Linked DNA regions of Homo sapiens: all the other regions are linked to region 4. The links are contacts of gene promoters, found by promoter capture Hi-C in human tissues and cell types (Jung and others, 2019). All regions are on one chromosome and are shown on one strand. The core of a region is centred on a gene start or on the middle of the fragment in contact, and the rest is flanking DNA. Distances in the headings are between cores, read along the strand shown.

The links. The method cuts DNA at HindIII sites, captures the fragments that hold promoters and counts their contacts. A contact is called where the count stands out against the background at its distance.
Region 1: a contact is called between the fragment with the promoter of SNRPD2 here and the fragment with the promoter of AP2S1 in region 4, in 1 of the 25 tissues and cell types used here (dorsolateral prefrontal cortex).
Region 2: the fragment with the promoter of LIG1 here is called in contact with the fragment with the promoter of AP2S1 in region 4 in 1 of the 25 tissues and cell types used here (dorsolateral prefrontal cortex).
Region 3: a contact is called between a fragment that was not itself captured here and the fragment with the promoter of AP2S1 in region 4, in 1 of the 25 tissues and cell types used here (dorsolateral prefrontal cortex).

Annotation. Positions count from the first base shown.
Region 1 is chr19:45,689,417-45,694,733 of GRCh38, forward strand. SNRPD2 (small nuclear ribonucleoprotein D2 polypeptide) reads right to left here and starts at 2,537. Exons shown (of 3, transcript NM_001384647.1): 1 at 2,471-2,537. The coding sequence starts at 2,472. It overlaps QPCTL (glutaminyl-peptide cyclotransferase like), which reads left to right and starts at 3,250. Exons shown (of 7, transcript NM_017659.4): 1 at 3,250-3,494; 2 at 3,997-4,140. The coding sequence starts at 3,288. RefSeq lists enhancers at 2,073-2,793, 2,612-2,741, 2,752-2,881, 3,407-3,957. The HindIII fragment of the contact is 8,059 bases long and covers 1-5,317 here.
Region 2 is chr19:48,167,912-48,172,952 of GRCh38, forward strand. It overlaps LIG1 (DNA ligase 1), which reads right to left and starts at 2,433. Exons shown (of 28, transcript NM_000234.3): 1 at 2,330-2,433. ZSWIM9 (zinc finger SWIM-type containing 9) reads left to right here and starts at 2,769. Exons shown (of 4, transcript NM_199341.4): 1 at 2,769-2,803; 2 at 3,883-4,166. The coding sequence starts at 3,892. RefSeq lists silencers at 1,872-1,941, 1,972-2,021, 2,822-2,961 and an enhancer at 1,915-2,574. The HindIII fragment of the contact is 31,276 bases long and covers 1-5,041 here.
Region 3 is chr19:45,713,755-45,718,982 of GRCh38, forward strand. The region is part of intron 1 of FBXO46 (F-box protein 46); the gene reads right to left. Among named protein-coding and RNA genes, the nearest start is that of FBXO46, 15 kb to the right of the region's middle. RefSeq lists enhancers at 3,202-3,872, 3,873-4,543, 3,986-4,035. The HindIII fragment of the contact is 7,183 bases long and covers 1-5,228 here.
Region 4 is chr19:46,849,262-46,854,287 of GRCh38, forward strand. It overlaps AP2S1 (adaptor related protein complex 2 subunit sigma 1), which reads right to left and starts at 1,585. Exons shown (of 5, transcript NM_004069.6): 1 at 1,503-1,585. The coding sequence starts at 1,505. RefSeq lists an enhancer at 1,600-1,909. The HindIII fragment of the contact is 18,087 bases long and covers 895-5,026 here.

The sequences.
Region 1 (5,317 bases), core at 1,287-3,786, 1.2 Mb before region 4:
TAGCACTTTAGGAGGTCAAGGTGGATTGATCACTTGATGTGAGGAGTTCGAGACCAGCCTGGCCAACATGGTGAAACCCCATTTCTACTAAAAATACAAAACAAAACAAAACAAAACAACAATAAAAAAAACAACCAACAGAAAATTAGCCAGGCGTGGTGGTGCACGCCTGTAATCTCAGCTACTCGGGAGGTTAAAGTAGAAGAATTGCTTGAACTCAGAGAGTCGGAGGTTGCAGTGAAGTGAGATCATGCCACTGCACTCCAGCCTGGGTGACAGAGCGAGACTCTTGTCTCAAAAAATAAATAAATACAAATTAGAAAATACAAAAATTAGGCCAGATGCGATGGCTCACGCCTGTAATCCCAGCACTTTGGGAGGCCGACGCGAGGTGGATCGCCTGAGCTCAGGAGTTCGAGACCACCCAGGGCAAGATGGTGAAACCCTGTCTCTTCTAAAAATGCAAACAAATTAACCAGGTGTGGTGGCGCATCCCTCTAGTCCCAGCTACTTGGGAGGCTGAGGCAGCAGAAACGCTTGAGCCCCAGCAGCGAAGGTTGCAGTGAGCCAAGATTGCGCCACTGCACTCCAGCTTGGGCTACAGAGTGAGACTCCATCTCAAAAAAAAAATTAGGCCGGGCGCGGTGGCTCACGCCTGTAATCCCAGCACTTTGGGAGGCCGAGGCGGGCGGATCACGAGGTCAGGAGATCGAGACCATCCTGGCTAACACGGTGAAACCCCGTCTCTACTGAAAATACAAAAAATTAGCCGGGCGAGGTGGCGGGCGCCTGTAGTCCCAGCTACTCGGGAGGCTGAGGCAGGAGAATGGCGTGAACCCCAGGGGGCGGAGGCTGCAGTGAGCCGAGATTGCGCCACTGCACGCCAGCCTGGGCGACAGCGAGACTCCGTCTCAAAAAAAAAAAAAAAAAAAAAATTAGCTGGGCATGGTGGCGCATGCTTGTAATCCTAGCTACTTTGAAGGCTGAGGCAGGAAGATCGCTTGAACCCAGGAGACAGAGCTCGTGCTACTACACTCCAATCTGGGTGACAGAGCGAGACTCCATCTCAAACAAACAAAACAAAAGAAAACCCTCCCATCCTCCCCCCATCTCAGTGTAGAAAGTAAAACCCCGACCAGACACGGTGGCTCACACCTGTAATCCCAGCACTTTGGAAGGTCGAGGCGGGTGGATCATTTGAGGTCAGGAGTTTGAGACCAGCTTGGCCAACATGGTGAAACCTGGTCTCTACTAAAAATACGAAAGTTAGCTGGGCATGGTGGTGGGTGCCTGTAATCCTAGCTACTCGGGAGGCTGAGGCAGGAGAATCGCTTCAACTCAGGCGGCGGAGGTTGCAGTGAGCTGAGATCGCACCATTGCACTACAGCCTGAGCAACAGAGCAAGGCTCCGTCTCAAAAAAAAAAAAAAAAAGAAAAAGAGAAAAAGATTTTTCTTTTCCCTTGGGGACTAGAGGTTTCATTCACTGATGTATCCTATGTAGCTTAAGCAGTGTCTGATACATAAGCATTCAATGTAATATCTGCTGCACTAATAAATGCGCAAAATCATGTCAATGACTCGTTCGTTATCCGTGTAAGTTGTGAATCAAGTCGAAAACGCACCCGTCTCCAGCTCAAATGATCAAGATAAGTCCCTTATTTCAAATAATTATTTCTAAAAGTCCTAACTTCCCTCCCCCATTATTCGTTTTATTTCTTTTGTTTCGTTTTGAGATGGAGTCTTACTCTGTCGCTCAGGCTGGAAGTGCAGTGGCGCAATCTCGGCTCACTGCAACCTCCGCCTCCCGGGTTCAAGCGATCCTCCGGCCTCAGCCTCCCGAATAGCTGCAATTACAGGCGCCCGCCACTACGGCCGGCTAATTTTTGTATTTTTGTTAGAGACGGGGTTTCACCACAATGGCCAGGCTGGTCTCAAACTCCTGACCTCAGGTGATCCGCCCGCCTCGGCCTCCCAAAGTGCTGGGATTTACAAACCTGAGCCACCGCGCTCGGCCTCCCCCAGTATTCGTAAAATCGCTGCCCCTTAACATTCATTTCAATAGGACTAATTATCTAGGACCACTCCCGTTATCGTTTAAAACATGTTTTTCATAATTAAATTTTTTTTTTTTTTTGTAGAGACGGGGGTCTCGCTATGTTGCCTAGGCTAGTCTCGAACTCCTGTGTTCCAGCGATGCTCCGCCTTGGCCTACTAAAGTGCTGGGATCACAGGAATGAGCCCCCGCGCCCAGCCCAGGGCGTTATCTGATAAAGCTGTCCCCTCTCCCGAAGTCACGATGCGTCAAAGGCCCCACGCCCGTTCTCAAACTCATCAGGAGAAAAGCAGGACGCTGCATCCCTAAAACATCTGCCCCTGCCCCCCCCGCTCTGCTCAACCCTTCCCACACTCAATCGGTCAAATATCCACCCTCAACCTCATTCCCGCCGCCTAAGCCTAGCCCGGCCTCACATGATGGTCACTACGCTCTCCGTTCACTCCCGTTTCCTCCGCGTTGCTGCTGCCTGAGGAGAGAGAGGCGGGACTTCCTCTTCCTGCGACCCACTTCCGTTGGCGCCTGCGCAAAGCCAACCAGTAAGTGGAGGCGTGGCCTGTTGCCACAGCATTCCCCACCAACGGTGCACAATGATGGAATAAAAGCTTCGGGTAGGGGTTCGCGGCCAGTCAGAACCACACGGGGGCAGATGTTTATGACAATGAAGACAAAAGGAAAGGCAGTCTGATTCAAACCGTTTCTTGAAGAATGGTACAGGTTGAAGGAGGGAAATGACAAGCTATTTCCAAATGCCCGCCGGCCGTGACTTCGGGGGCGCGGCCTCCGTGAAGCCAATCCGCTCCTCGCTTCGGAGACAGGCACCGCCCCTCTTCCCTCTGGGACGCGTTACTGACGTATCTACTGATCTTTCCGACCCTGCGCCACCAATCCCCTGCCTACATCCGGAAGGGGCATGGACCTGCGCCCGGGAGATCGAATATTTTCCATGATCAAACGCTGTTCATTGGCTTTCCCTCCTCCGCTAAGGCGGAGCCTACTTCTCTTGCGCTCCCATTTGGGTCGTGCCATTCTCAGGGGAACCAACCCCAATACCTAAGGGAGGCTGGGAGGCGTGTCCTCAGGACCGTAGTTCTTATTGGTTTCGCTGCTCGCTGTGGGGTGGGCTGGTGCAGCCGCAGCTGTTGCTTATTGGCCCACCGATTCCATGGGGAGGAACTTGGCTGGGCCTAAACTCAATCCGTGGTCTGGTACAGGTTTCAGGGCAAAGCGGCCATGCGTTCCGGGGGCCGCGGGCGACCCCGCCTGCGGCTGGGGGAACGTGGCCTCATGGAGCCACTCTTGCCGCCGAAGCGCCGCCTGCTACCGCGGGTTCGGCTCTTGCCTCTGTTGCTGGCGCTGGCCGTGGGCTCGGCGTTCTACACCATTTGGAGCGGCTGGCACCGCAGGACTGAGGAGCTGCCGCTGGGCCGGGAGCTGCGGGTGAGGCTGGGCGGGGACCCGGGCACCGCGGGGACCCTCATTCCCTCCCCGCTGTTACCCAGGGTTGACGTGGCTTTAGCGTACGGCCCTAACCGCAGATGCCACCGTCTTCGTCATCTGAGCGCATGACCCTTACCAAAGGAATAAGGCTTCGGGCTGGTTCTGCAACAGTAGCTTCCTTTTAAGAGGAAAGGTCTGAAATAGTAAGACGGGGGGGTTCAGGGTTCTACGCCTTTAGTCAACTATTTGGAAGAGTCCCTTCCTCCATCTCCCCTCTCTCTCACTGGGCCTCGATTTCCCCATCAAGTTTGAGGTAGGCTGGACCGGATGGTCTTGGAAGGACTTTTCCTGAGCCTTGGATTTATCCTAGAAGTCTCCGATGCTGGAGGCGGCAGATTAGGAAGAGAACCCGGGGCTCCTCGCGGGTGACGGCGCCCGGGGTAGGGTTGAAATGGGGGGGTTGCTCTCATTCTTCCCTTCCCTATCCCACCTCCTTCCCAAGGTCCCATTGATCGGAAGCCTCCCCGAAGCCCGGCTGCGGAGGGTGGTGGGACAACTGGATCCACAGCGTCTCTGGAGCACTTATCTGCGCCCCCTGCTGGTTGTGCGAACCCCGGGCAGCCCGGGAAATCTCCAAGTCAGAAAGGTAAAGGGACCCACCTCCAGTCCCTGACCCCCTAGCCCTCCAGGGAATGGGAAATAAGAATCCTGTTCAAGATCCCAAAGAAGCTAAGAGGAGGAACTGGGGCTCTGACTGGAGTTAATCGGACTCTAGACTCCATGCTGGTAACAAACCACCAGGCTGTACTGCCCCCCTTAATGCCCCCACCAAAAGCTTACTGTGTGCTAGGCATAGGCAACAGACAGCCCTATAAGGTGGGTACCAATATGATCTTCATTATGCAGATGGGGAAACTGAGGCTCAGAGAGGTTATACACATTGCACAAATCCTACAGATAATAAGTAGTAGACCTTAGCCGGGTGCAGTGGCTCATGCCTGTAATCCCAGCACTTTGGGAAGCCAAGGTGGAAGAATCACCTGAGAAGTTTGAGACTAGCCTAGTCAACCTAGTGAGACCCAATGTTTAGAAAATCATAGACCTAGAGTTGAACCCAAACAGGTTGGCTCCGAGCTGGTGCTGTAATGTATCTGTTGTCTTCCAGAAAGCATGAAGAGTCATTTAAAGGCCAGGCGCAGTGGTTCACACCTCTAATCCCAGCACTTTGGGAGGCCGAGACAGGCAGATCCCTCGAGATCAGGAGTTTGAGACCAGCCTGGCCAACATGGTGAAACCTCATCTCTACTAAAAATACAAAATTAGCCAGGCGTGGTGGTGGGTACCCGTAGTCCCAGCTACTTGGGAGGCTGAGGCACGAGAATCACTTGAACCCAGGAGGCGGAGACTGCAGTGAGCTGAGATTGCGCCACTGCACCCCAGCATGGGTGACAGAGCGAGACTCCATCTCAAAAAAAAAAAGTCACTTAAATACTGCCTGAGTCCCAATGCTACCTCATCCACTTAGATTGTGACCTTGGACTGGTTTCTTTTTTATTTTATTTTATTTTATTTTATTTTGAGATGGAGTCTCACACTGTCGCCTGGGTTGGAGTGCAGTGGCGCGATCTCGGCTCACTGCAACCTCCACCTCCCAGGTTCAAGCAAATCTCATGCTTCAGCCTCCTGAGTAGCTGGGATTACAGGTGTGCACCACCATGCCTGGCTAATTTTTTGTATTTTTAGTGAGACGGGGTTTCACCATATTGGCCAGGCTGGTCTCAAACTCCTGACCTTATGATCCGCCCACCTCAGCCTCCCAAAGT
Region 2 (5,041 bases), core at 1,183-3,682, 1.3 Mb after region 4:
GAAGTAAGCAATGCTTCAACCAAACAGTTCACACAGAAAGCAGGTTAGGGACTTAGCCACCAAAATCCTGAGGGCAAAGGAGAAAACTATTACGATCCCTCCTGAGTGCTCAACTGCCTAGGTACTTGACATTCTCAATTATACTGACTCTCCACAACAACTCTGTTACAGAAACTAAGGCACAGAGGGGTTTTCAAAGGAACTTAACCTGCATCTATAGTACGTTCCACCCCAGGTCGGCCTGCTCCACAGCTCACCTCTTAACCACCAGACTGAGTTGCAAGGGAAGGAGAAATACATAAGCGTTTACTGGGAAGCCTACTCTATGCCTGACAGGCTGATCACATTCTCAAATACCCTCAATCCTCAAGTCAGCCCTCCAAGACAGGTGAGATCATCCCCACTTTATAGATGAAGGTAATGAGGACAGAGGAACATAGCTGGGGTTCAGGCAAGGCTTCAAAACCCGGTGTGGCTGGCTCCAAAGCCCACGTTCCTTTCTCCTTACCACGGTACTCAAGGCTGGCTTCTCAACTCTGTGTACTGCTGAGTTGGGGGGAACAAACTGGTTGATGCCTCTGGAGGACCACCTGGCGTCTCTATCGGAACGGCAACCCCACTTCTGTGTATTTGGCCCACAGAGACCCTCACAGGTGGACCAAGTGAGGCACAAAGTTACCTGCTGCAGCACTAACTGTAATGAGAGAAGACTGGAAACTGGTGGAATGTCTACCCTTAGGGAACTGGTTCCCTCATTACTGGAATACCATATGGTAGAATATTGTTCAGGGTTAAAATTAAATGAATGATGGATAAAAGGTATAGGAGTTTTTTGGGGGGATGATAAAAATATCCTAAAATCGATTATGGTAATAACTGCACAACTCAGCGCATACACTGAAAACCACTGACTTGTACACTTTAAATGGGCACTTTAAATACACTGAAATACACTTTAAATACACTGAAAACCGCTGACTTGTACATTTTAAATGGGCAAAATTGTACACTTTAAATGGGCAAACTGTATAATTGTGAATTATATCTCAATAAAGCGGTTACCAAAATGAAGAGATAATGACAGGAAAAATATCAAGTAAGGATGAAACAGTACTCAGTAATAAAAAGAAACGAAGCACTGATACAAGCAACAACTTGGGTGGACCTCCAGGGCATTGTGCAGAGTAGAAAAAAGGTAACATCCTAATAATATATGATTCCATTTACATAACAATCTCCGAATGACAAAACTAGAGATGGTGAACACATTAGCGGTTGCCAGGGGCCTGGGGAGGAGTTCTTATGTGGAGAGGGAACTGTTCTATATCACAATTACGATGGGGGTTACACAAATCTATACAAGGAATCAAGCTGCACGGGCACACAGATGCACAATCACACTCACACCACACAAACTGGTGAAAACTGAACAAGGTCTGTAATCTAGTTAACAGAACTGTATTGATGTCAATTTCCTGGTTTCGATATTGGGACTACATAAGATGTCACCATTAGGGGAAGATGGATATACTCTTTTCACAACTTCCTTGAATCTATAATTATTTCAAAATAAAAAGTAAAAACAAGAGGTAAGCTCCATCCCTTTATCAAGCATACATTAGGCCAGACGTCTCCCCATTCAGATGATTCTCCATCTTTTACGAGCCCTTTACCTAGACCTGGACCTTACCACTGACCTCTCCCTGACACCACCCATCTCCCTCCAGTAGGGCCCACTCCTTCCAGGTGATGCTGCTGCCCGCGATTTACCTTCTTCTAGCCCCGCCCCCTCAGCACTTCCAGGTGGCCCCCGCCCCCTCAGCACTTCCGGTTCCCAGCCAGCCCCACCCTTGGCACCTCCCCCTTCCAGGTGGCCCCGCCCACACGCAATCTTTTCCCCGGCCCCGCCCCTTAGCTCCCTTCAGCCCCTCCCCCTCCCAGATAGCCCCGCCCCCTCGGGGGGCCTTCCGATTTCCAGCTGGCCCCGCCCACACAGTTTTCCCCCCCCCGGCCCCGCCCCTCAGTTCCATTTGGCCTCTCCCCTTTCCAGGTGAACTCGCACCTCAAGGCCTCTTCTCAGAGGACCTGTCCAACTGTCTCTGTCTCTCGTCTACCCTCTACCTGGCCCCCCTCCCTCTGGGAGACACCTCTCTGCACTCTCCGGCGGCCCGCAGCCCGCGCTCTTCCGTCTCCACCGCGCTCTCGGCAGCCTCAGCGTCCCCACGCCCACTCCTCTGCAGACACCCCGACATGGCGAAGCATAGGCCCCAAGCATTCGGCGCACCCGCCGCCCTCCGCCTCCCATCTGCTTGCGGACGGCCCCACTTGCCTTGCGTTGGTCCCGCGCGCCGCTGCCCGGGCAACACACTCAGATCCGCCAGGCGCGCCTCTGCAGTCCCAAGTTCGCGCCACGGCATTCGCGCGCAGACGTCTGCGGGCGGGGGCGGGGCAGAGCCTAGGGGCGGGACCTGGGCACCGTCCGCACCGCCGCCGTCGCGCGGAGGACACTGGGAGTCGTAGTCTCCCGAATGGGAGGAGGGCGGGAAAAGGGGTGAAGTGGGGCGAGCCCTCCCGCAGAGCACACTGGGAAAATGCCCGCGCTTTCCCTCGCCCTGGATGAGCGGGTGTGGCTGAGGGTCTGAGGAGTGACTGGCAGGGAAAGAGGAGGAATCGGTGGAAGCGCCCCCGCGAGGCACGGCGGGAAGAGAGGCGGGAGACCGCGCGGGGCATCCCGGGAGCAAGGGCCGGGCCAGGCCTGGGCGCGGGGCATTGTGGGAGGTGGACGCCGCTCCGGGGCGGGTAGGTGAGTGGGGAGGGGCGGGAAGGGTGCACATCTTGGGGAGGGGAGAGGCACAGCTAGGTGGGACGGCGGGGCTGGAAGGTGCCGCAGCGGGCGGGGAGGGGGGGAGTAGGAGGGTCGGGAGCGGGCTGGATGGGGCTGCTCGAGGGGAGACGCGCAGCTGGACGTGGGGGGAGCATCTGGGGTGAAGGAGCCCATCCGAGGACGAGGGGCCATGTCTAGAACGAAGATGCATATTGCGGGGGATGGTGGATGTAACTGGGAGGAGGGGCCCACAGCTGGACTGGGGGCCGCATCTGAGGAGGAGGGGACCACAGGTGAATACTGGTGACACTTCCGAGGAGAACTAGCCACAAGTGGGGCACACACCTGTAGGCGAAGCGTGGATAACTGCATGTGGGGAGTACATCTGGAGATGAGAGTGTCTCAGGGAAGCCCCAGCTACAGCTGCATGTGGCGAGCCATAGGGTCATAATCGGGGGAAGGGGCAACAGCTGCACGCCAGAGGCACATCTGGGGAGTGCGGAGCCACAGGTGCATGAAGCATGTGACCGGGTGAGGGGTCCGTGGCCTGGATGTGGGAGCACATCTGGAGATGGAGCGTCTTTGGAGGGGTTACAGCCAACTGTTGGCACATGGAAGGAGGAGTTCCAGATGAATACGAGAGTTAGAAGTTACTCTTGGGTGAGAGACACAGCTGGAAGGGGAGGAGGTTTTAGCTGGAATTTGAGAACACATTTGAGGAGATGTCCTTAAGGGACATCTGAGCTTAAGGGTCGTATTTTGGGAGGAGAGATTCCAACTGTACCTAAGGGTCACATCTGCGGAGGAGGAGACGAGTTGGAATTAGGAATCAAGATGACAGGCTCCAAGTGAACCAGGGATAAGGCGGTGGGAGGAGGCCAAAGATAGGATGGAGGTTGATATTTATATATTTGGAGAAAAACAGGCACGTCCGACCCCGGGCTACCCACCTCGATAGAGGCACCAGCAACCGACGGGGCAGGCCAAGAATGGAGTAGATGAGATACCCCGGGTGGGAATGGGTCTGATATCCACCTGTTCTCCCCTCCTCCACGCAGGCCCCCAGGATGGAGCGGCCGGAGCCCCCACCCGGCACGGCTGCGGGGCAGGAGGAGCAGGAGCTGCGGGAGCGGGCCTTCTTCTCGTGGGCCGAGTTCAGCCGCTTCTTCGACGCGTGGTGCCAGCAGCGGCTGGCGCTCTTCTTCGTCAAGAGCTCCATGCACCTGGCGCGCTGCCGCTGGGCCAGTGCGCCCCCGCTCTACACGCTCATCGACGTGCTCAAGTACAGCTACGTGCGGCTTGTGTGCAAGGACGTGCGTGCGCCCAGCCGGCCCGCCGTGGGGTGCGTGAACCTGAGCCGCTGTCCTGCTGGGGGGAAGGGGAGCACCGGGGGTGGGTGTGGGTGGGAGACGGGCAGAGAACACCCCACCCAGAGATGCAGAGGGGGAGAGGCCAACTGAGGCAGCCAAATACACCTTGCAGAGAGGCGGGAGTCAAGGAGGGACATGTACTGAGAGAAGAAGAGGAGCTAGAGAGACAAAGATACTCACGGAGCAAGAGATGGTGTGGGCCCGACTTACAGACTTTTTTTTTTTTTTCGAGATGGAGTCTCGCTCTGTCGCCCAGGCTTGAGTGCAGTGGTGCCATCTGCAGCCTCCACCTCCTAGGTTCAAGTGATTCTCCCGCCTCAGCCTCCCGAGTAGCTAGGACTACAGGCACCTGCCATCATGCCCGGCTAATTTTTGTGTGGTTTTTTGTTTTTGTTTTTGTTTTGTTTTGCTTTGTGTTGTTTTTTTGAGACAGAGTCTTGCTCTGTCACTCAGGCTGGAGTGCAATGGCACAATCTCGGCTCACTGCAACCTCCACCTCCCGAGTTCAAGCGTTGTTTCTCCTGCCTCAACCTCCTGAGTAGCTGGGATTACAGGCACGCGCCACCACGCCTGGCCAATTTTTGGATTTTTGTAGAGATGGGGTTTCACCATGTTGGCCAGGCTGGTCTCAAACTCATGACCTCAGGTGATCTGCCCGTCTTGCCTCCCAAAGTGCTGGGATTACAGCCGCGAGCCACTGTGCCCGGCCTGACTTACAGAATGTAATAGAGACTTCGAGAGGCAGAGCGTAAAACACACACACCCCAAGAGGAGAAAATAGTCACGGAAAATTCCAGAAACATGGAGACATGGAGGCAGAGACACCAGAGACAGCCAGGGAAACAGA
Region 3 (5,228 bases), core at 1,652-4,151, 1.1 Mb before region 4:
GTCAGGAGTTTGAGACCAGCCTGGCCAACATGGTGATACCCCATCTCTACTAAAAATACAAAAATGTGCTGGGCGTGATAGTCCACGCCTGTAATCCAAGCTACTTGGGAGGCTGAGGCACGAGAATCGCTTGAACCTGGGAGGTGGAGGTTGCAGCGAGACCAGATGGCACCATTACACTCCAGCCTGGGCGACAAGAGCGAAACTCCGTCTCAAAAAAAAAAAAAAAAAAAAAAAGAACTCTATTCCCACTGCCATGCTCAGGTGAGCAGACAGAGGTTGCAGAGGGGATGAGAGATGCCCTTTTAACTTGCAGAGCGGGACCCTAACTGGCAGCACGCACCAACCCCATAGGTCCTACCCCACTGTCCAACTGCCTTTGCCCACAATCCAGAGGCCTTTAAACTGCCATAACTTTTACACTTAAGTGAAAGGACCACTGACAGACAAGGTCCTTTTTCTATTTGCTCACTCAGTAGCTCGTTCCTGAAAAGACAGAAATTCCCAGCCCCACCCACAGCTATGGCTGCTTAAACCCACAGAGAGAGGAACGAAATGCGCTGGGATGGGGATGAAAATCTGAGGTCAGATTCAGACAAGCACTTAAGAAATCGGCTTTTCTTTTTTTTTTTCAGGTAGTGGGGCTTAATGAGAATTTATTAAAGCTGTGTGTCCTCAGTCAGAAAAATGCACACCCTTGCAAAGACAGTACAGGGGATTCCCTAAAGCACAGCCGTGGACCCGCGGAGTAAGAGGGCCTGTTCTAGAGCCTAGGAGGAGTTCCAGGCTGCAGGGAGCAATGATGGCACCACTGCACTCCAACCCGGGTGACAGAGTGAGACCCTCTAAAAAACAGAGAACAAAGCCGGGTGTGGTGGCTTGTGCCTGTAATCTTAGCACTTTGGGAGGCCGAGGTGGGCAGATTGCTTGAGCCCAGGAGTTTGAGACCAGCCTGGGCAAAATCCATCTCTACGAAAAAAGATACAAAAATTAGCCGGGTGGGGTGTGGCGCACCTGTAGTCCCAGCTAGTTGGGAGGCTGAGGTGGGAGTATCGCTTGAGCCCAGGAGGTGGAGGCTGCAGTGAGCTGTGATGCTGTGATCATACCACTGCACTCCAGCCTGGGTGACTGAGAGAGAACCCATCTTGGGAAAAAAAAAGAAAGAAAACACGAGGGTGCCTGTTCTAGCCTAGCTTTCTCCTCAAGCTGCACACAGATAAACAGAGGCTCAGAGTGGGGAAGGGTGACATAGCTAAGATTACAGTGGGTCCGGAGCAAAAAGAGGCTCTCAACTTGATTTCTGGACTCTTCAATTTAGGGCTCTGTTAATGACTATTTTATTTTGGAATGACTTGATGTGAATGACCTAATCTGGAGGCAATCTTGCGCATGAGTCCGACATGATCACTTTCACTGCAGTTTGAACCTACTAAGTAACATATGCCTCAATCTTTCTCTGGCTCATCTCCCTCCAGACAGCTCAAAACCAAAATGACCCTTTAAACCTTGAAACTTCCACATGCCTACAGGCCAGAGAGGTCAGCAAACTATGGCCCAGAAGCCTAATCCAGCTCGCTGTCTTTGTAAATAAAGTTTTATTGAAACATGCTCATTTGTTTATGGATGCTTTCATCTTCAACAGCAGAGCTGAATAGCAGAACAAAGACCACATGGCCTGCAAAGCTTAAAATACCCATTATCTGGCTCTTTATGGAAAAAGTTTGCCAACTCCTGCAGTACAGACCATCCCTCTAAATTCAAACAATTCCAGGCCTGGCACAGTGGCTCACACCTGTAATCCCAGCACTTTGGGAGGCCGAGGCAGGCGGATCATCTGATGTCAGGAATTCGAGATCAGCCTGGCTAACATGGCAAAACCCCGTCTCTACTAAAAATACAAAAATTAGCCAGGCGTGGTGGTGCGCGCCTGTAGTCCCATCTACTCAGGAGGCTGAGGCAGGAGAATAGCTTGAACCGGGAGGCGGAGGTTGCAGTGAACTGAGATCTTGCCACTGCACTCCAGCCTGGGCGACAAGAGCTAAACTCCATCTCAAAAAAAAAAAAAAAAAAAAGAAAGAAAACAAAACAAAATCCAGACAGCCTCCAAGCACTCACAGGTACCAGTAAACACAGAGAATCCCCATGTCAAGAATCTTTATCTCCACTCCATAATCCCCAATCCCACCTACCCCTCAAATACTTACAGTCCCTGCTGTAATCTCAGCTCAGTGTTAAAAATATCACTCCACAGCCTCCAAAACCTATAGATGGCTGTTTACCAACCACCAATTCACATACATGTTGAGTATCTCAAATCTGAAAATCCAAAATGCTCCCAAATTCAGAACTTTTTGAGTGCCAAGATGACACTGATAGGATATGCTCATTAGAGCATTTCAGATTTTTCAGACTTGGCATACTCAACTGATAAGTATAATGCAAATACTCAAAATCCGAAGAAATCCAAAATCCGAAACACTTTTTAGTCCCAAGATTTTCGGGTAAGGGATACTTGACCTGTATAACCAACTGCCCAGGGAGGCAGGCTAACACAGCAAAAGCCAGTCTCTACAGATGCCATCCTGCTACAACCTGGCCACCCCCTCAAGTCCCCTAATCAGTTCCAACCTTACCCCCAGCATCTCAATGTCCTCCCCCAAATATCGAAAAGCTTTCAAATACTACTTTAAACCACCGAACCTAAAAATATCCTCTCCAGCACTGAAGGGCCGAATCTCAGTCAATCTCTCACAGATCCCAACACAGCAATTCCCCAAACTATGTCATAAACAATCACTCTCCCGGAATCCTATACTCCCCCCAACCCTCCTCCATTATCTCCCAATTCCACTAGAAGCCTCCAACAGCAGACGAACTCTTTGAAAACACAAAAGCTCCCTAACACTTTAAGATGAATCTTAAACCATAAAAATGTTTCACAAAGCCAAAAAAAAAAAACAAAGAAACCTCACAAATGTTACAATAGCAGACATGTGCTTACTGCACGCTCGCTGCGAGCTTACTAGGTAGGTACTGCGCTAACAATTCCTAATCCTCCTCGGTCCCTAGGAAGCAGGTAGTGTTATTAATGCCTAGTTCCCGATGAGACACAGGTGAAATCTCCTGTCCGGGTTAAGACAGGTAGGAAGTCAAGACGCGAGCCCAGACATTCCACCTCCAGGACTGGTACTCTCGGGCTCTTTGCTTCTGTCTCTCCGGGAGCTCCCCAAATTCTATGCCCAACAAACACTCCAAAACACAAAGGGAACCCGATCCCGAAAACACAACCGAACCTTCCGCATTACAAACGAACCCAAACTCCAAGGTGCCCCTTAAGCGCGAGAGAACCCCAAAAGTATCCCCTAAACCCACGTTAAAACTTCCCCAAGCCCCAGAACATTTTGCAAATGGAAAAGGAACCCCCAAATCTTGTAACCGCCCCCCCAAAGAAATCTTCCAAACCCCTCAGGTGACCCTCGAAACCTACACACGCCCCCAAAGAGCCCTCACCCGCAGCCCCCCCAGGCGGCGGGAGAAGGCTGCAGCCCACACGCATGCGCGCGAAAGGTAAAAGGGCCCGCCCCCTCGCTCCTTCCCTCCGGCCACCGCGCGGGCAGACTAGCAACTAGCTTCCCTCCGCCCTTTTGTTGACAGACGCGCGCGTGACGCTCTCAGCCAATGAGCGGCCGCCATTCGGGGCCGTGCCCATATAAGGCAGGCCTTGGCGAAGGGGCCCAACTTCGAAATAGGGAGGAGTAGGCGAGAGGTGATGGGAGTGGGTGGTGGGGTAGACACAGCCGGATGCAAGGGAGCGTGGAACAACTCCCAACGTCCAGCTAAACGGAACAAGGTCAGGGCAAAGGCCACGACACTCCAGGGGAGGCTTATTACACCACGTCCCCTCGAACAGAAGCCCTGATTGACGCTTGAGACTTAAAGGGCCAGGCAGCCCGGGGATTAAGAACACCAAGGCGGAAGGAAGCAGGCGGAGAGATCAGAGTATCCAGCTTTGGTTGGGAACTGTGGGGGCGGGGGGCGGGCTGAGGATTTCCGCGGGGGGAATTGGGCATCGGGATAACCCCACCCTGAAAAACAAATGGACAGAACCCTACGAAGGTTCCCACGGCAACTGAAAACAAGCCTCTAGGCCTGGCGTTCAAGGCTCAAGCCGTGTAGCCATTCGGAGCTGCCAGTTCAGCCTTTCCAAACAGGCGCCCCAAACCTGCCTCACTTAGTACAAAAGAGCAGCCAGAAAAGTCCTGTTAAAGCACAGTCCTATAAACCTGAACCCGTCCCTATCCTGGTGAGAACCTGCCATGGCTCCCCAGTGCCCTCTGGAAAACACCCAGGTACCCCACCTGTCCAGTCGCATCCCTCCCCACTCCTCCGCCCCGCAGGCAATACCCCAGTGCACCCTGGTGGGCACCTGATCTGGCATACATAGAATACTCAGGACCCATCTGATCCCCGGTAGGAGTGATCGTCTCCACGGTATGGATGAAGAAACTGACGCAGGGCAGGTCTCCTGACCACAAGGTCACACAGAGCTGGAGTGTGAGCTGGAGCAGGGATATGAAGCCAGGGAATCTGATTTCCTAGTCACTGTGCCCTACTGTTTCACTATATATTCCCTGGGGTTTCAGCTCGACCACCCCTCCTCTAAGAAGCTGACACCCCCAATCCCCCTAGGCCAGGTCAGGCTTCACCCAGGGCGTCCATGCGGTGGGCTCATTGCTGTCTATTCCTCAAAGTTACCGGGCTCTTGCCTTCCCTGGTCTCTGCATTTGCTGTTCCCACCAACTGCAATACATTCCCCCTCTGCAAGGCTCAATTCCTTACTTCATTCAGGTCTGTGTTCAAATGCAGTTTTATTAGAGAGGCCTTCTCCAACTCCCTTCCTGGAAATCACCCACCTGCCCAGAGGGGACCTCTGGGTTCCCTCTTCCCTGCCTACTCTGGGTCATCGTCTGGGGTGGGTCTCTCTCCAGGCCTGAGACAGGATCTTCTAACTCCCCCACACTGAGCCCAGCATAAGGCCCTACACTAGGTCAGCCTTCAGCAACTACTCCATGAAAATCTATTCATTGTAAAACATTGTGAACCAAAAATATGGAAAATCAAAAGACGGCAAAAAACTGGCTGGGAAAACACGAACCAAGAGACAAGTAGAGGAGTAACATTACCCCTTAAAAAAAAAAAAAAAAAAACTTGGCCAGGCACGGTGGCTC
Region 4 (5,026 bases), core at 335-2,834:
TCCCAAAGTGCTGGGATTACAGGCATGAGTCACCGCCCCAGCCTGAGAGTCTTTCCTAAGCCTCATTCTCCACACACTCTATCCTCCCTCCCCCAACCAACCAAACTGGACCGGAACAGGATGTTACACTCTCCTTCCAAGAACTCCTGCTGAGCCAGGGAAAACCACTTCCTAGCAGGGCAGGGGTCCCAGGCAGGAAGGGACGTTGGGGGGCCTACACCAGGCAGCCACAGCCTGGGAGCAGAGCCGGAGACATATTCACACAGTTAGGAGAACTAGAAGCAAACCCACAGAGTTGACAAAAAGCTCTGCCTCTTACTCCCAAATTCCCTTGTATACCTCTCCCTGTTTTCTTCCCATTTGGAATCTCAAGTCCCCTCCGTCCTGAATCTCTGCATCCTCACGCCTCTGCTGTCCCCTCTAGATGCCCCCCAACCTTCCCTGTCTCCAATCCCCCTCCTCTGGAGTTGTTCCCTTTTGACCTCCACTTTCTCAGTCTCAGTTCCCCTCCTTGGGGCCTCAATGGGCTTTTTACTGGTGACATCCCTTGTCCCACTCCCAAGCTTCCTCCCTTCTTCAAAAGGTCACATTTTGCCTCCAAGGACCCTGTTCCTGGAGGAGACTCCGCCCCCGCTCTGACACTCTTTCTCATTCGTTTTCTTTCCCAACTTCCAGCCCAAAGAACCCTTTCCTAGATCCAAAGCCCCAACCTGGGGGATAGGGGCACTCCTAAATCCAATGTTGAGTCTTTGCCCCAACAAAGATTCCTCCCCAGGTCTCACACTTTCAAGCCTACTCCCCACCCCACAAGATCTCTCCTCTTGGAAAGACCTATTCAGTTGCTCCCCATTCTTTCCGAGTGTCCATCTTACCTCCAGGTCCTCTCTCCTTTTACAGCGCTTTCCCAGACCCTTAAGTTTCATTCCCTACAGTTGCCTCCTTTTGGTTTCCTGTGCCAGGTCTCTTCTTGAGATCATCCCTCTCTCACAGGCAGTCTCCTGCCCCTGTCTCAACATCCCCTCTCCACCTGCAATCAGATCCTTGTCTCTAGAGACTCCTCCCATCAAGAAAACCTCCCTCCCCTTTTCCAAGGTCTCGCGTTCTCGTCCCAGCGCTCCCGCCACACTTCCAGAGCGCCTTCCTCTTTCGGACGCCCTCTCCCCACCTCCAATGCCTTCTCGCTACCCACAAGACTGTGTCTCACGAGTTTCCTCTCGTTTCAAAGCTTCCAACCATCTACAACGTTTCCCACCTGCACAGCCCTTTCCCCTTGGAACACCACCCCCAATGCCCGTCGCCGCGAGACCCCTGGTAACCCCCGCGCGCAGAATCACCGCCCTGTGCCCTCCTTCCCGGCCCTGGATCGGTCCCAATCCCCAGAGCCCGCGCCTGACCCAGACCATCCGCGGCAGAGAAGGGACTTGTCAGCGCCCGATCCAGCCTCGGCTATTTACGCGTGGGCCCCCCCTCCGCCAGTCCCCGGCGTAGCGCTCCCCCGTTACCATGGCGACCCCCGTCCAGACCCCAGCGGCCCCGGTCCCGCGGCGACTGGGCAGCTCCGGCTCAGGGTGCAGTTGTAGGGCCCAGAGCTAGAGCGGACTTCCGGTAGAAAAACCCGCCTGCCTTCTCGCGCACAGACCCCTGGGAGTTGTAGTTTCACCAAAGGGGCCAGCCTGGGTGAAGATGGGTGAAGAGTCAGAGCCAGTCCTTTTCCTACCAAACGAGTCAGATCCCAAGTGCATGCTGGGATTTGTGGACAAACATCTTTACAGAGGACTACAATTCCCGAGATGCTGAAGAACCAGCGGTGAAGGCGTTGCATTCAGGGAAATGTAGTTCTCTTAGGTCCCCTCCCCCCACCCAGGGGAGAAGGGCATGCTGGGAATAGTAGTTTTAAATTTTAAAAAACTGTCCTGGGGAGATAGAAAATGTCTTTCCATTCCTCATCCAGTGATTTCTTTAATTTTTTTAAAAATAGAGACAGGGGTCTAGATATATTGCCTAGGTTGATCTCGAACTCAGCTTCAAGCGACCCTCAGCCTTCCAAATCACCAGGATTACAGGCATGAGCCACCACAACACCAAGCCAGTGTTTTGCTTAAAATACGTTGCGTGTGTCTCTCGGGAGACAACAGTTTAAAAGCATAAATTTGAACCGGCCCGGCGCGGTGGCTTACTCCTGTAATCCCAGCACTTTGGGAGTCCGAGGCAGGCAGATCACTTGGTTAGGAGTTCGAGACCAGCCTAGCCAGCATGGCGAAACCCCATCTCTACTAAAAATACAAAAAATTAGCCAGGCATGGTGGTGCGCACCTGTAGTCCCAGCTACTCGGGAGGCTGAGGCAGGAGAATCACTTGAAGCCCGGAGGCAGAGGTTGCAGTGAGCCCAGATCTCGCCACTGCACTCCAGCCTGGGCAATAGAGAGAGACTCCAAAAAAAAAAAAAAATCTCTAGTTTGGCGGGGGCATGATGGCCCATGCTTGTAATCCCAGCACTTTGAGAAGCTGAGGTGGGTGGATCACCTAAGGTCAGGACTTCGAGACCAGCATGGCCAACACGGTGAAACCATTTCTACTAAAAATATAAAAATTAGCTGGGTGTGATGGCAGGTGCCTGTAATCCCAGCAACTCGGGAAGCTGAGGCAGGAGAATTGCTTGAACCTGGGAGGCAGAGGTTGCAGTGAGCCGAGATCACACCATTGCACCCTAGCTGGAATGACAAGAGCGAAACTCTGTCAAAAAAAAAAAAAACCCTCCAGGTCAGCAGTTAGTTTAGTGTTTTTTTGGTGTGTCTTTGTTTTTGCTTTTTTCTGAAAGAGGGTCTCCCTTGGTCACCCAGGCTGTAGCGCAGTGGCATGATCTCAGCTCACTGAAGCCTCAACCTGCTGGGCTCAAGTGATCCTCCCACTTCAGCCTCCCGAGTAGCTGAGACTACATACACATGCCGTCACACCTGGCTAATTTTTTGTACTTTTTGTAGAGACAGGGTCTTGCTATGTTGCCTAGGCTGCTCTTGAACTCCTGAGCTCAAGCGATCCTCCCTCCTCCACCTCCCAAAGTATTGAGATTACAGGCGTGATTTTTTAAATGGCCTTTATTACATTTTAAAAATTATTTTATTTGCCCTATGAGTATGTGTGTATGTTTGTCTAGATCTCTCATTAGGTAGTGAGTTGTTGAGGGCAGGGACCCTGTCTGATAACTGTATCTTCATTACCTAGAACATGACAGATGGTAAGCAGTCAATAAAGTTATTACTATTAGTACTGAGGGGAGATTGGCCCTAATAAGAACAAAGCATGCCAGGCATGGTGGCTCACTCCAGTAATCTCAGCACTTTGGAATGCCAAGGCAGGCAGATCACCTGAGGTCAGGAGTTCGAGACCAGCCTGCCCAACGTGGCGAAACAGCACCTCTAATAAAAATACAAAAATTGGCCGGGCTTGGTAGCACTTGCCTGTAATACCAGCTACTTGGGAGGCTGAGGCAGGAGAAGCACTTGAACCCTGGAGATGGAGGTTGCAGTGAGCCGAGATCGTGCCACTGCACTCCAGCCTGGGGGACAGAGAGAGAGAGAGACTCCATTTCAAAGAAATAATAATAATAAATTAAATAAATAAAACAAAATGTATTGTAGAATTATGTAAATTTAAGGTATAGTACTGGCAGAATAACCAACACATAGTTGTTGAATATTATAGGGGCAAAAAGAGGCCAGAGATCATTTCTGTCTTGTGTACTTTTCTGTCTCCAACAGGGTTGATACTAGGATGACACAAGCAAAGTGTCCAGGTTGCAAAATTTTAAAAGGACCTCACTCTTAGATGCCAATTCCTGTCTTACACAGGACTGAGAATATGTGCCTCATTAAATTTTGTGCCCTCAACACGTCACTTGCCTCCCCTTAGTCCCAGTCCTGATCTCCAGTGTTCAACTTAATACTTGGCACAACTCTGGTGTTCAATAAACATTTGCTGAATGAATGAATGCATTTGCAGCAAGAAAACAGACACTGCCCCCACCCTCACAGCATTCACAGTCTAGCAGGAAAAATGGACTTAAATGACATAACATAAATAAATTTAAGGCCAGGTGCAGTGGCTCATGCCTATAATCCCAGCACTTTGGGAGGCCGAGGTGGGTGGATCACCTGAGGTTGGGAGTTCAACAGCAACCTGGCCAACATGGTGAAACCCCATCTCTATTAAAAGGACAAAAATTAGCCGGGCATGGTAGCGTGTGACTGTACTCCCAGCTACTTGGGAGGCTGAGGCACGAGAATCACTTGAACCCGGGAGGCAGAGGTTGTTGTGAACTGAGAGTGTGCCACTTCACTCCAGCCTGGGCAACAGAGTGAAACTCTGTCTCAAAAAAAAAAAAAAAAAAAAAAAAGAAGGCCAGGCAGAGCCAAGTGGATCACCTGAGGTCAGGAGCTCAAGACCAGCCTGATCAATATGGTAAAACCCCATCTCTACTAAAAACACAAAAATTAGCCAGGCATGGTGGTGTGCAACTGTAGTCCCAGCTGCTAGAGAGGCTAAACAGGAGAACTGCTTGAACCCAGGAGGCAGAGGTTGCAGTGAGCCAAGATCGCGCCACTGCATTCCAGCCTGGGCTACAGAGCGAGACTCCATCTCAAAAAAAAAAAAAAAAAAAAAAAAAAGATATTAGCCAGTGCTACAGCCACGAGAACACTATCTTTTTTTCTTTCTTTCTTTTCTGAGACAGGGTCTCGCACTATAACCCAGGCTGGCATGCAGTGGTGCAATCACAGCTCATTGCAGTTTCAACCTCCGGGGCTCAAGCAATCCTCCCACCTCAGCCTCCTGAGTAGTGGGAACTACAGGCACGTGCCACCATGCCCAGCTAATTTTTAAATTTTTTGGAAAGAAGAGGTCTTGCTATATTTTCCAGGCTGGCATGTGAATGCTTGACTGGAGCTGAAGGACCTGTATTCCAGGTGGCTCGCTCCTGTGGTTGGCAAATGAATGCTGGCTATTGGCCAGAGACCTCAGCTCCTCACCA